2 separate regions of the Homo sapiens genome follow, and region 1 is linked to region 2. The links are contacts of gene promoters, found by promoter capture Hi-C in human tissues and cell types (Jung and others, 2019). All regions are on one chromosome and are shown on one strand. The core of a region is centred on a gene start or on the middle of the fragment in contact, and the rest is flanking DNA. Distances in the headings are between cores, read along the strand shown. Region 1 holds the start of OAZ1 (ornithine decarboxylase antizyme 1). Region 2 holds the start of TMEM259 (transmembrane protein 259).

Region 1 (6,491 bases), core at 242-2,741, 1.2 Mb before region 2:
CCCCGCGAAGACCGGGCGGGCCTAGCCTGACCTCATGGAGGACGCGCCCCGCTCCGGCTCCCGGCCGCCCGCCCCCCCGCCCCCGCTCCAGGCCCGGGCCCTCCCGGTTGCGTCATCCAGGCAGACGCGGCCTCGCGCCCCGGGGGAGATTTTCACAATCGCGCAGCCGGCAGCGCCAGCAGCCATTTGCTGCGCAGGGTAAACAGGCCCCAAAGTTGCCTCCATTTTGCACGGCCCCCAAACCGCGGCACCGCCAGCACCGCGGCCCAACCTCCCGATCCGGGGCTGAGCGACGCCCACCTCGGGGGACGCAGTCGGGAAAGCTCGACCGAGACCCCGCGGGCTCCCCCACAACCGCAGCTGGCACCCGCGCCCCCGGAAGCGGGACGCGTCTTCCCGGGAAGCGGCGGGGGTCTTCCCAGGGCGCTGCCGGGCTGTCGGAGTGCGCCACCCCCAGCTCCCCGGCGGCCCCCGCGGAGAAGCCCTGGGTGCCGTCTACGTGCGCGGCCTCGCCCGGCGCGTCCCGGGCCATCCAGACCGACTCGCTCAGGGGCGAAAAACGGGGCCCACGAGGTCCGTCGCGTGCAGGGGCCACATCGAGGCAACAGGGACCCGCGGGAGCTCGTCCACCGCAAAGCGCTCCCCGCTCCCGCAGCGCACGCTCGACGGCCGGGACCGAAAAGTGCAGATTCACCAGCCCCGCGGGCCCTGCCTGTCCGCGGACCAGCCCCCCAAGGCCGACCCCGCCCCCAACCAGATTGCCCCATCCTGCGCCTCCCAAATCCGACCCGACCGCACACCCTTCCTCCAAACCGAATTCCCAGTCTGCGCCCCGCAAATCCAACCCTCGACCAGAAGCCTCTCCCCTCCTCCGAAGCCGAGTCCCATCCCGCGAACCCCGCAAAAGACACACGCCTCCCCCGACTCCCCGTCCTGCGCCCAAATCCGACCTCCGACCCATGCCCCTCCCGCAAATCAGGCGCCCCGGACGGTGCCCCCCAAATCCAACTCCGCACCCTTGCCCCCCAAACCCGACTCCCCCGAGAGCACTGCTAAGGCCGGGGGGGACCTCCAGGCCCGCCCTGCGCCTACCTCGTCCCCGGCGCGATTCTGGCCTTGACAAAGGGGCGGATCTCGCGCGCCGGGGACCTATCTGGCGCCCCGAGGACGGCCCCCCGCAGGCCTGCGCGGCCGGCGCTTCTGGAAGCTTCGGACGGGGGCGGGGCACTTACCTCTCACTGCTGCTGCCGCCGCGGCTGTGCAGGCTTAGGAGCGGCATGGTGCGGCTGGCGTGGATGGTGGCGCTGGGTTTATCCCCTTCCTTCTCTCTGGCGAAGCAGTGGCTATTGAGGATCCGCTGCAGGGAGGATTTCACCATCCGGCCGCTGGGGTCCGAAACCAGGAAAACCTCCGCTGCGTCTCTCCGCGCCGCCGCCGCTGCTCGCCGTTCGCAAAATGGCGCCTCTGCCGCCGCCCGCCTTTATAGATGCTGCGCCCAGGCCACGCCCCCCGCGCCGCCGGGAACGCGACCGCACGAGGGGCAGAGCCGCGGGGCCGCCGGGAAAAAAAGTCGCGCCCGCCCCTCCCAGCGCCTGATTGGTGAAAGGGAAAGGGAAAGGAAGAGGCTCTCTGGAGATTGGTTGGTGAGCCTCGGGCCACGCCCCCTCCTGCGCGCGTCCTTCTGGGGGCGGGGCTGCCGTGGCGCCGGGTACGCGCTGCGCGCGCCCCGAGCCGTCCCCGCCCCCACAATCGTGCCTTGGGGGCGGGGGCGGCTCGCTGGGGCCGATTTTCGGGGGTCTTCGAGTGCCCGTTTGTCTGTCGTGGTCCACGTCGCCCTCCCTAGGGTCCCTTCACGCAGCGGGACCCCTCCCCTGGGTAGGCCCCCGGGTGCTTGGGGGGTTGTCCAACCGCGCCAGAATTATTTCCAGTAACACCTGGTAATCATCGATGATATTACTGGTTTTATTTTTTTAAATTTGGTCTTGCAGTTCTTAAAATGCTTCCAGTGTTTAAAAAAAAAGAACTTCCAATGTTAAAGATATTCAAATTTAGTAAAATATTTCGTGTACAATTTGGACTTAAGCAAAAATTTTACTCCTTGCAGATAAATTCAGATTTTTCCTGTGGAAACTGAAACTTACCCTAAGGAAAAACACTACTCCTGGCAGTTAAAATTCAGAAACACATCTCATGTATGAACTAAAATGTGGATCTCCCAAGGAAAAAACGATTTCTTTGGTGGTCAAGTTCGGTAAACTGTTTCGCCTGTGAGGTAAAATGTGGACTTACCTAGCAAAAATATTTCCCCTCCTGGTTAAATCCAGAAAAAAAATCTCAGGTATGAACTGCACTTTGCTTTTAATAAGCAAAGATATAACTCTTGGCAGTCACATACGGGTACATAGCTTGTGTGTAGACTAAATTATGAATTTAGCAAAAAGTTGCCACTTTGCAGTGAGGTTTAATAAAATATTTTTTATTTCATGTATAAACAAAATTTTGTTCTTACCAAGCAAAAATGCTACTCCTGGCAAATCCTGATTCCTTTCATGGTTTTAATTTTGTTTTGTTTGCGACCGGGCCTGGCTGTCACCCAGGCTGGAGTGCAGTGGCGCAATCTCGGCTCGCTGCAACCTCCGCCTCCCAGGTTCAAGCGATTCTCCTGCTTCAGCCTCCTGAGGAGCTGGGATTACAGGTGCCCGCCACCACGCCCGGCTAATTTTTGTATTTTTAGTAGAGATGGGGTTTCACCATGTTGGCAAGGCTGGTCTGGAACTCCTGACCTCAGGTGATCCGCCTGCCTCGACCTCCCAAAGTTTGGGGATTAACAGGCGTGAGCCACCGCGCCTGCCTGTCTTTCGAGATTTCGTACTGCACCAGAAGGCTGTTGTTGCATCTCTGCTACGAGCATTCGCTATTCAGGTGTTGAGGCAGAAATTAACTCCTGCGGTTGACATTTGGGGCCGCCCTGGGCACTGCAGGGCGCTGAGCAGCGTCCCTGGCCTCCACCCACTCCATGCCTTGAGCACCCCCAGTTGTGACAACCACAAGTATCCGCAGACATCACCCAGTGTCCCTTGGCGGGGGCAGAATCACCCTGGGTGAGACTCCCGAGTTAGGGGATTCCACGGACCCCCCCAAGAGACTCTGCATCCCATGATCCTCTGCCCTGCTGAGGTCCCAGGAGACTGCGCACGTTGAAATCCACACCTTGAGGCAGAGGTTGCAGTGAGCTGAGATGGCGCCGCTGCACTCCAGCCTGGTGACAGAGCGAGACTCTGTCACAAAAAAAACAAAAAAAAAGCAATCCACACCCTGAGTGGGGAAGGAGAGAGGAGAAGCATCCCAGGAGCTGGGGGCCTCCTGGTTTATACCGTTTGCCCCATTAGGAGTTTATCCTGAGGCTGGGCACGGTGGCTCACGCCTGTAATCCCAGCACTTTGGGAGGCCGAGGCGGGTGGATCACGAGGTCAGGAGTGCAAGACCAGTCTGGCCAACATGGTGAAACCCCGTCTCTACTAAAAATACAAAAATTAGCTGGGCATGGTGGCGCGTGCCTGTAATCCCAGCTACTCAGGGGGCTGAGGCAGGAGAATTGCTTGAACTGGCACCCGGGAGGTGGAGGTTGCAGTGAGCCAAGATTGCACCACTACACTCCAGCCTGGGCTACAGAGCGAGACTCCATCTCAAAAAAAAGGAGTTTATTCTGGTGTCTGGTGTGAGCAGAGAACAGACTCTGTTTCAAATAATTAACTCAGGGTCTCCTCCCTCGGACCCGTGGACATTGGGCTTGGATTGTTCTCTGGGGTGGGGCATCCTGGGCAAATGGTATGAACCAGGAGGGCCCCAGCTCCTGGGATGCTTCTCCTCTCTCCTTCCCCACTCAGGGTGTGGATTGCTTTTTTTTTTGTTTTTTTGTTTTTTGAGACGGAGTCTCGCTCTGTTGCCAGGCTGGACTGCAGCGTCCTGGGCACTGCAGGGTACTGAGCAGCGTCCCTGGCCTCCACCCACTCCATGCCAGGAGCACTCCAAGTCATGACAACCAGAAATGTCCCAAACATCATCCAATGTCCCTTGGGGGCAGAATGACGCCCCTAAGTTGAGGACCTCCTCTGGGAACAGAGGCAAGAGCCTGCTCGAAATGAACAGGTCACCGGTGCGATTTCCAGAACAGCCACGACCAGGGAGCCCCATCCCTCCATCCTGACTGCAGCAGCTCTCACTTCCTCCTCCTGCCTGCCTCTGATGGCCGCCTGCCAATGCTGTGAGGCTTCTAGAAGGGCCACCCCCACACTGGCCAGGCCACGTGGGATGAGCGCTAGGATCAGCAACTGCGCCCTGCTGGCCCACCTGGCCGGGTTCCCCAGAAACTCCCCAGGGTGGGAGGTGCTTTGCTGGGAGCTGGGGAGTCTGTGACTGGTGAGGGGCCTCCCGGACAGCAGGGAGAGAAAGAGGCATATCTTTCTCTGGAGGTGGTGAGGCTTGAACTGTCTGAAAGGGACAGCAGAGGATGTGGGGTGGTCAAGGATAGAGGGCCCATGCCTGGGTTTTCTTCTGAAATCAAGGTTGAGGGGATACGGCTGCTGGCAGAGGACGCAGAGAGTATGACTCTGATTGATTGATTGATGGACTGATTTTTTTTTTTTTTTTTTGAGACAGAGTCTCACCTGTAGCCCAGGCTGGAGTGCAGTGGCGTAACCTTGGCTCACTGCAACCTCCACCTACAGGGTTCAAGCGATTCTCCTGCCTCAGCCTCCCGAGAAGCTGGGACTACAGGCGTGCACCACCATTCCCGGCTAATTTTTGTGTTTAGTGGAGACAGGGTTTCACCATATTGGCCAGGACGGTCTCAAACTCCTGACTTCATGATCTACGTGCCTCCCAAAGTGCTGGGATTACAGGTGTGCCACCGCACCTGGCTGTTTGGTTTTTGAGACAGAGTCTCACTTTGTCACCAGGCTGGAGTTCAGGGTCATGATCTCGGCGGCTCACTGCAACCTCCCCTTCCCAGGTTCAAGTGATTCTCCTGCCTCGGCCTCCCAAGTAGTTGGGAATTACAGGCTCACGCCACCAGGCCCAGTTAATTTTGGTATTTTTAGTAGAGACGGGATTTCACCATATTGGTCAGGCTGGTCTCGAACTCCTGAACTCAGGTGATCCACCCATCTCACCCTTCCAAAGTGCTGGGATTACAGGCGTGAGCCACCGCACCCGGCTGACTCTGATTTAAAAGAGGGTATGTGGGCCCGGTGTGCACTTTGGGAGGCAGAGGCAAGAGGATCGCTTGAGCTCAGGAGTTCAAGACCAGCCAGGGCTACATAGCCAGACCCCATCTCTGCAGCAAATTTAAAAATTAGGGACATGGTGGTGCACACCTGTAGTTCCAGCTACTCCAGCGGCTGAGGCAGGAGGATCCCCTGAGCCAGGAAGGTCAAGGCTGCAGTGAACTATGGTCTCTCAACTGCACTGCAGCCTGGGTGACAGAGGGAGACCTTGTCTCTAAAAGAATTATAATAATGAGTTAAATAAAATAAAATGTAAACAGGTAAAAATAAAGAAGGATTGGGGCCGCGCACAGTGGCTCACGCCTGTAATCCCAGCACTTTGGGAGGCTGAAGCAAGAAGATCGCTTGAGCCCAGGAGTTGCAGACCAGCCTGGCCAACATAGCAAGACCCTATCTCTAGGTTCTCACTTTGTTGAGAATTTTAAAAACTTCTAGAAATTTTAAAAAATTAAAAAAATTTTAATTAGCTGGGATTGGGTGGGCATCTGTGATCCCAGCTACTTGGGAGGCTGAACCAAGAGGATCACTTGAGCCCAGGAGGTCAAGGCTGCAGTGAGCTGTGATCACACCACTGCACTCCAGCCTGGGGGACAGAGCAAGACACTGTCTCAAAAAAAAATGAAAGCAAGCAGGAAAATGGCCAAGCGTGGTGGCTCACGCCTGTAATCCCAGCACTTTGAGAGGCCAAGGCAGGCGGATCACGAGGTCAGGAGATCGAGACCATCCTGGCTAACACGGTGAAACCCCGTCTCTACTAAAAATACAGCAAAAATTAGCCGGGTGCGGTGGTGGGTGCCTGTAGTCCCAGCTACTCGGGAGGCTGAGGCAGGAGAATGGTGTGAACCCAGGAGGCGAAGCTTGCAGTGAGCCGAGATCGCGTCACTGCACTCCAGCCTGGGTGACAGAGAGAGGCTCCATCTCAAAAAAAAAAAAAAAAAAGAAAAATCAGGAAAATAAGGCAGAATCTGGGCCTCCTTTTCTCCATGTGTTCCTGCCTGGCATTATATTCAAGCCTGGCTCTGTCTCCTGAAGAAAAACTCAGAAGGCGCTTGAACTCTTTTGAGCAAACAGTGTGGGGAAGAAAAAGGGAAGTAAACAAGAACCGGCCTTTTTTTTTTTTTTTTTTTGACATGTCGCACAGGCTAGAGTGCAGTGGCCACTCACTGCAACCTCCGCCTCCTGGGGAACCGACCATTTTTTTTGAGA
Region 2 (5,948 bases), core at 1-2,500:
AATAGCCGGGTGTGGTGGCGGAAGCCTGCAATCCCAGCTATTCAGGAGGCTGAGGCAGAGAATTGCTTGAACCCAAGAGGCGGAGGTTGCAGTGAGCCGAGATCACGCCACTGCACTCCAGCCTGGGCGACAGAGTGAGACTGCGTCTCAAAAAAAAAAAACAACACAAAACTTTTTTTTGGCGGGCTTGGTGGGTCACACCTGTAATCCCAGCACTTTGGGAGGCCTAGGCGGGCAAATCACCTAAAGTTAGGAGTTCGAGACCAGCCTGACCAACATGGAGAAACCGTCTCTACTAAAAATATAAAATTAGCCTGGAGTGGTGGCGCATGCCTGTAATCCCAGCTACTTGGGAGGCTGAGGCAGGAGAATGGCTTGAACCCGGGAGGCGGGGGTTGCAGAGAGCCGAGATCGCGCTTCTGCGCTCCAGCCTGGGCGACAGAGCGAGAATCCATCTCAAACAAACAACCAAAAAACCCAAAAACCATAGTATCCTCTTGTGTACGCAGCCGGCACTCAGTAAGTGCCCCTGAAGAGCACTTATTTATTCATTGCTGCGCGAAGCTACGGGGGCAGGTGGCACAGCGCCACGCAGGAGTAGAGACTGCCAGATTGTTCTACCGCCAACCTTAGTGGCGCCACAGGAGATGGACACGGGAAGACTATGACGTTACTGGCCCTGTGACGTCATGGCAGGATCCGGGCAAGAGAAGCCAAACGAGGTGACGAGCTGTAGACTACAGCAAAAATATGGAACGCTTCACGAATTTGCGTGTCATCCTTGCGCAGGGGCCATGCTAATCTTCTCTGTATCGTTCCAATTTTAGTATATGTGCTGCCGAAGCGAGCACGACTCAAGGGTTACTGTCACACCTATTTTAAGCCCTTCAATCAAATCATCTTTTGGTTAGGATAACTTATGGTCGGTTTCATATTTAGCATAATTTCCTACAGTGGTATGTTGCAGAACAACTTTCGTGCTTACGCTTACTTTGATGTCTTCGATCACGTAAAATCCCATATCTTATCGTAATTTTACCGCCTTATACTGGCCTCATAGCCGCGGTGGATTGTGGGTGCCAATATGCAAAAGAGGTGGCCCAGATGCAGGCCCGCCCCCTGGAGCGGCCGAGGTAGGGGGTGAGGCCTCCGCGGGCGCCGCTGGCATCCCAGCGTTCTCTGCGGGCGCAGGGGGGCCGCTCTTGCCCGGCGTGGCGACTCGCTAGCGTCAGCAGCGCCGCAGCCGGACGAGAAAGCGGAAGATGGCGGCGGCGGCCGGGAGGCCGTGAGGAGAGCGGCGGCTGCGAGGGCGGCCGATGGCGGCCGGGAGGCGCCCTCGGACACTTGCGGGTCGTTAGGGCGCGACGCTGGGAGGCATGTCGGAGCACGTGGAGCCCGCAGCTCCGGGGCCCGGGCCCAACGGCGGCGGCGGCGGCCCGGCCCCCGCGCGCGGGCCTCGCACCCCCAATCTCAACCCCAACCCCCTCATCAACGTGCGCGACCGGCTCTTCCACGCGCTGTTCTTCAAGATGGCTGTCACCTATTCGCGGCTCTTCCCGCCCGCCTTCCGCCGTCTCTTCGAGTTCTTCGTGCTGCTCAAGGTGACCGCGGCCCCGACCCCCGACCCTTGACCCCAGCGGCTGTCCCGACCCCCAAGTCTGCTACCTCCGACCGCGACCCCTGGCCCCGCTGGGGACAGCGAGCGCCACCCTGCACCCTGAGGCCTATACCCGGCCCTACCGATTAGGGCTCTCCCTCGCGACCTCTGACCCTGGGATTGGCCAGGGACACCGTCTCGTGACCCCATCCCGCCCGGGGACGTCCACCCGGGAAGGCCGGATCCCGCTGCACTAGAAGCCGCTGTTCTCTACTCTGGAAACCTCACTGTCAGCTCCCTCCAGGGCCCATCCTGTCCCCGGCGACCGCCTTTCCCAGGTCCCCACCTACCCAGGCTTGGAGTCCGGTCCTGGCCTGCGAGGTAGCACCTCCCGCCCTTTGACCCCTGACTGTGCCGCCTGAGACCCTCAGTTCCGAGGCCTCTCTCCCCTCCCAATGTGCTGGCCCAGAACCCAGCCTGACGCAGGTCTCCCTCGGACCAACCCCTGTCCTGGAAGTCGACTCCCCACTCCCCTCTCTCCCTCCTTGTAGCCTTTCAGCTGCGTTCCCCGCTCCTGAGCCTCAGGGGAATGTGACTTAGCTGAGGTCACCTCGCTAGGGTTAGCGGCAAAGTCACCGGCAGCAGCGTACCACCCCATCCCCGGCCTCTTCCTCCGCTGGGTCCCCACTCCCTTCCTGCTTCAGGAGCTCAGGTTGTGGGTCTGTCGCCCGTGCCTCCCCTATGAGGCACCGGCCTCCGCGTCTTGGGCTCTGTCCCCCTCCCGCCCTCCTCAGATGGCAGAGGTCTCAGCCGTGCAGGACAGGCATCGGCCTGACTCCCTCTGAGAAGGAGTCTTGCTTGGGTGACAAGAGGGGCTCAGTAGCAGCTGCAGCCCCTCAGAAAACAAGCTGGCCGGGGTCCTGGGCCACCTGGCGAAATGGGGACGTGGCCGTTTTCGTTCTGCATCAGAACACCGCCGCGCCGGGGCTTGGGGGCTGCTGAAGTTGCGCCGTGAGCTTTTTGGATCTAGCCTGCAAAGAGGGGTCCGATGCTGGCGGGCCAGGCTGCGATCGTGGGCAAGTTCCCAGCCTGACACAGGTTGGTCAGGAGCTGGCTGCTTTTTTGGGCTCGGCAAGTGGAGCTGGACCTTGGCCGTCCTGCGGACCTGGGTGTGGGTCCCAGCCTGCTGCCACTTCACGGAAGGCCCCCCAGCCTCCAGATCCGTGCCTCCCCAGGCCAGAGCTCAGCCCATCATCCTTCCCACCTTCCTCCCTGCAGCCCCCCAGAGTGGCATGGTCGCCTCAGTAGGCACCTGAGCAGGGCTGTGAAGGGTTACGCAGGCAGGCGGCCTTTCCCGGCTCTGGGGTCCACAGACGGGGCCTGAAACTGTGGACGGAGGCTGGTCTGTGGACGTGGGTTTTCCTTCCATGGAGTAGCCTGGGAACAGGATGGAGCCACTGTGTCCTTAGGCTTGTGGAGGGTGTGTGCTGGGTGCCAGGCCAGGTTCCCCCGACGGAGCTCAGCCTCCTTGGGAGGTGCATCCCTGTCGCCTGGGCCCTGGTCCCACCATGTCCCGGTTTGGAAAGGGATCAAGCCTACCCGGCTCCATCTCCAGGCCAATACCACTCACAGGTGGTCAGATGGGGCTGGGCCAGAGCTGGAGTTCCCCGTCTTCTGTGTAGGGTGGAGACTCTTGGGAGGTTCTCAGTAACCCCAATCCCTCCTCTCTCAGCAGAGGGCTTTGGACTGTGAGATCTCTGGGTGGTGAATTTTTTTTTTTTTTTTTTTGAGATGGAGTCTTGCTCTGTCACCCAGGCTGGAGTGCAGTGGTTTGATCTCGGCTCACTGCAAACTCCACCTCCTGGGTTCAAGCAATTCTTCTGCCTCAGCCTGCGGAGTAGCTAGGATTACCGGTGCCCACCATCACAACCGGCTAATTTTTTTGTCTTTTTAGTAGAGACTGGGTTTTGCCATGTTGGCTAGGCTGGTCTCAAACTGCTGATTTCAGGTGATCTGCCCGCCTCGGCCTCCCAAAAGGCTGGGATTACAGGCGTGAGCCACCATGCCTGGCCTGGGTGGGGAAATCTGTTCTTTGTGAATTTTCCACCCGGTAATCTGGTGGCACAGAATCTGACCCTGCTGCCTTCACTTTTACTTATCTGCAAAGTGCAGGCTGGAACTGCCTGATTTCAGAGGCTGCCTTGAGTTCCAGAAGGCTCCTCTGCTTCCTGCCTGCCTGGCTTCCGGGGGTCTCCCTGCAGAGAGCCAGGTCCTCCCTGGTATGATCCCTTCAAGGTGGCTTCATCCTGTGGCATCTGTGCAGCTGAGCTCCCAGCCCTGAGCTGGCATGGAGTCCCCCAGCTCTCACCCATGCCTGGGTGGCTTTAGGAAATGCCAGGATCTCCCAGCTCTGAGCCAGCATGGAGCCCCCCGGTCCCTCATCCATGCCTGGGTGGCTTTAGGAAATGCCAGGCAGTGCCAGGTGCTGGGGAGAGAGGAGGCGGCAGGGGCCTGTGTTCCAGGGGCCCTCGGGAGACCTCCATCCAGCCTCAGTATCCACCTCTGCTGGCCTTCATGGCCCTGAGCCCAGTGTGGCAGAGACTGTCCATCTTGGGGCACTGGGTGCCTGCACCTGTGCGGTTGGGCTCTGGACCCAGGTGACCACCAAGTGGATGCCCACAGGGTGAAGGGGTCTCGACTCAGCACCCCTGGACATGGGCAGGGGCCCGCGCCTAGCCACAGGGAGTAATGGGGCTCCTCTTGTGGGGTCGTGACGATTAAAGACGGGGTATGTGAGACCCCAGGGGCCCTGCTCTGAATGGGGGACCTGTCACATTGAGGCCACTGTGAGGCTGCAGTGGAAGGAGAGGCCCCGGTGGCCTGGAGGCAGGAAGCACCCCGGGTGGACAAAGGGGAGCCCCAGGTAGTGTTTCCTGGCTGGGGCTGAGGGCTCTGTGTCCCACCTGGGAGGAGAGTGTGGCTCCGCGGGCTTGTGTGTCCGTCGGTCTGTGGGTCAGTCAAATACCCAGAGAGCGGGCAGGCTGCTCCTGGCACTCCAGGTCTGTGGGGAGACAGGAAAGGAAAGGCCCACCCAGTGGCCGAGTGTTGGGGTGCCCTGAGAGCCTCGGCCAGAACATCCAGGAAGCTTCCTGGAGGAGGCGGTGAGCACGGCCCCAGGCTGGGGGAGGTGCTCCTGTGGGTGCAGCCGTGTGTGGGCTGACCCGGAGGAAGGAAGGGTCATAGGGGTGGGGTGACTCCTGTGCTGGGTGGGCAGGGCCTCCTGGAGGTGAGCCACAGCCAGTGGGATGGGGTGGGGTGTCCAGGCAGCTGGAGAGCGTGTGGGAAGGCCGTGGGGCTGGAGCATGTGGGTGCCTGCTGGGGAGCCTGGGTCAGGGACAGGGTCATGGAGTGTAGGGGACTGGACCACCCAGGGCATGCGAGTGGCTGAGCCAGGTTGCGGGCAGAGGGTGGCCAGGGGCCCATGGGAGCATTTGCAGGTGAGCTCCCTGGGGAGGGTTACTGTGGGCGTGGACGAGGCTGCCTGGGCGTGTGGCTCAGGGCCGGGCCTGGTGAGGTGGCTGCTGCAGGGTGGCTGATGACAGACAGGTCTTGGGGAGGAGGACCCGGGACTCGGGATGAGCCTGCGTCTGGCTGGGTGGTGCCTGCTCCTTGTTTTGTGGTGGGAGACTGAAGGGGAGCTGAGGCTTTGGCGGCAACGGGCCTTGTCCAGTGGGGCATTTTTCTGGTCATGCTCAGTCAGGGAAGAGGGGCCCTGAGCTCGGTCAGCACGGAGCACCTGATGGGGCAGAGACACAGTGACGTCTGAGTCATAGCGTCTGGTGGACTTGAAGTCTTTGACTGGAGTGTGTGCACATTGTGTGAAAACACTGGTGCCCTCTCATCACGTCCGCTGTCTTCATGGGACGGGTCACTCACACCAGTGCTGGGTGTGGCAGGATGTGTGTCCTGTGCCCTCTCCCGCTGACCCTGGACCAAGCTGACCCTGCCCAGGGCAACCCCAGGAGCTGCTCTTCCCCGTGGGGCCTTAATTGTGCAGACTGGCACTGCCCTGGCCCCTCCCTCCTGGCCATGTGACCTCAGCAGGTCCAGGTCTGTCGGGACCTCTGTGTCAGTTCCTCGTATATAAACCAGGGATGGTAACAGCCGTGCGTCCCTTGTGAAGCGTTGGACAGCCCCGACCTCGGCCCACTGTGTATCAGCACTTTTTGGAACATCTTGGCACAGGGTCCATTGCTGTCCTGGGCACAGCTCCTGCTGGATGTGTGGGCCTGGAAGGCAGAGCGTGGCCACCAGCAGCATCCACCATGGGCCTCGCGGGCCCCTCTCTCCT

What was found. The method cuts DNA at HindIII sites, captures the fragments that hold promoters and counts their contacts. A contact is called where the count stands out against the background at its distance.
Region 1: a contact is called between the fragment with the promoter of OAZ1 here and the fragment with the promoter of TMEM259 in region 2, in 1 of the 25 tissues and cell types used here (hippocampus).

Annotation. Positions count from the first base shown.
Region 1 is chr19:2,264,486-2,270,976 of GRCh38, reverse strand. OAZ1 (ornithine decarboxylase antizyme 1) reads right to left here and starts at 1,491. Exons shown (of 5, transcript NM_004152.3): 1 at 1,233-1,491. The coding sequence starts at 1,378. It overlaps LOC105372240 (a long non-coding RNA gene), which reads left to right and starts at 1,724. Exons shown (of 2, transcript XR_936242.3): 1 at 1,724-1,875; 2 at 2,105-2,484. RefSeq lists silencers at 1-199, 410-469, 1,435-1,924 and enhancers at 1,178-1,792, 4,288-4,457. The HindIII fragment of the contact is 6,913 bases long and covers 239-6,491 here.
Region 2 is chr19:1,016,425-1,022,372 of GRCh38, reverse strand. TMEM259 (transmembrane protein 259) reads left to right here and starts at 1,250. Exons shown (of 11, transcript NM_001033026.2): 1 at 1,250-1,601. The coding sequence starts at 1,377. RNU6-2 (RNA, U6 small nuclear 2) reads right to left here and starts at 851; the gene lies at 745-851. RefSeq lists silencers at 1,059-1,168, 1,329-1,398, 1,429-1,488, 3,747-3,966 and an enhancer at 2,764-3,363. The HindIII fragment of the contact is 9,371 bases long and covers 1-2,149 here.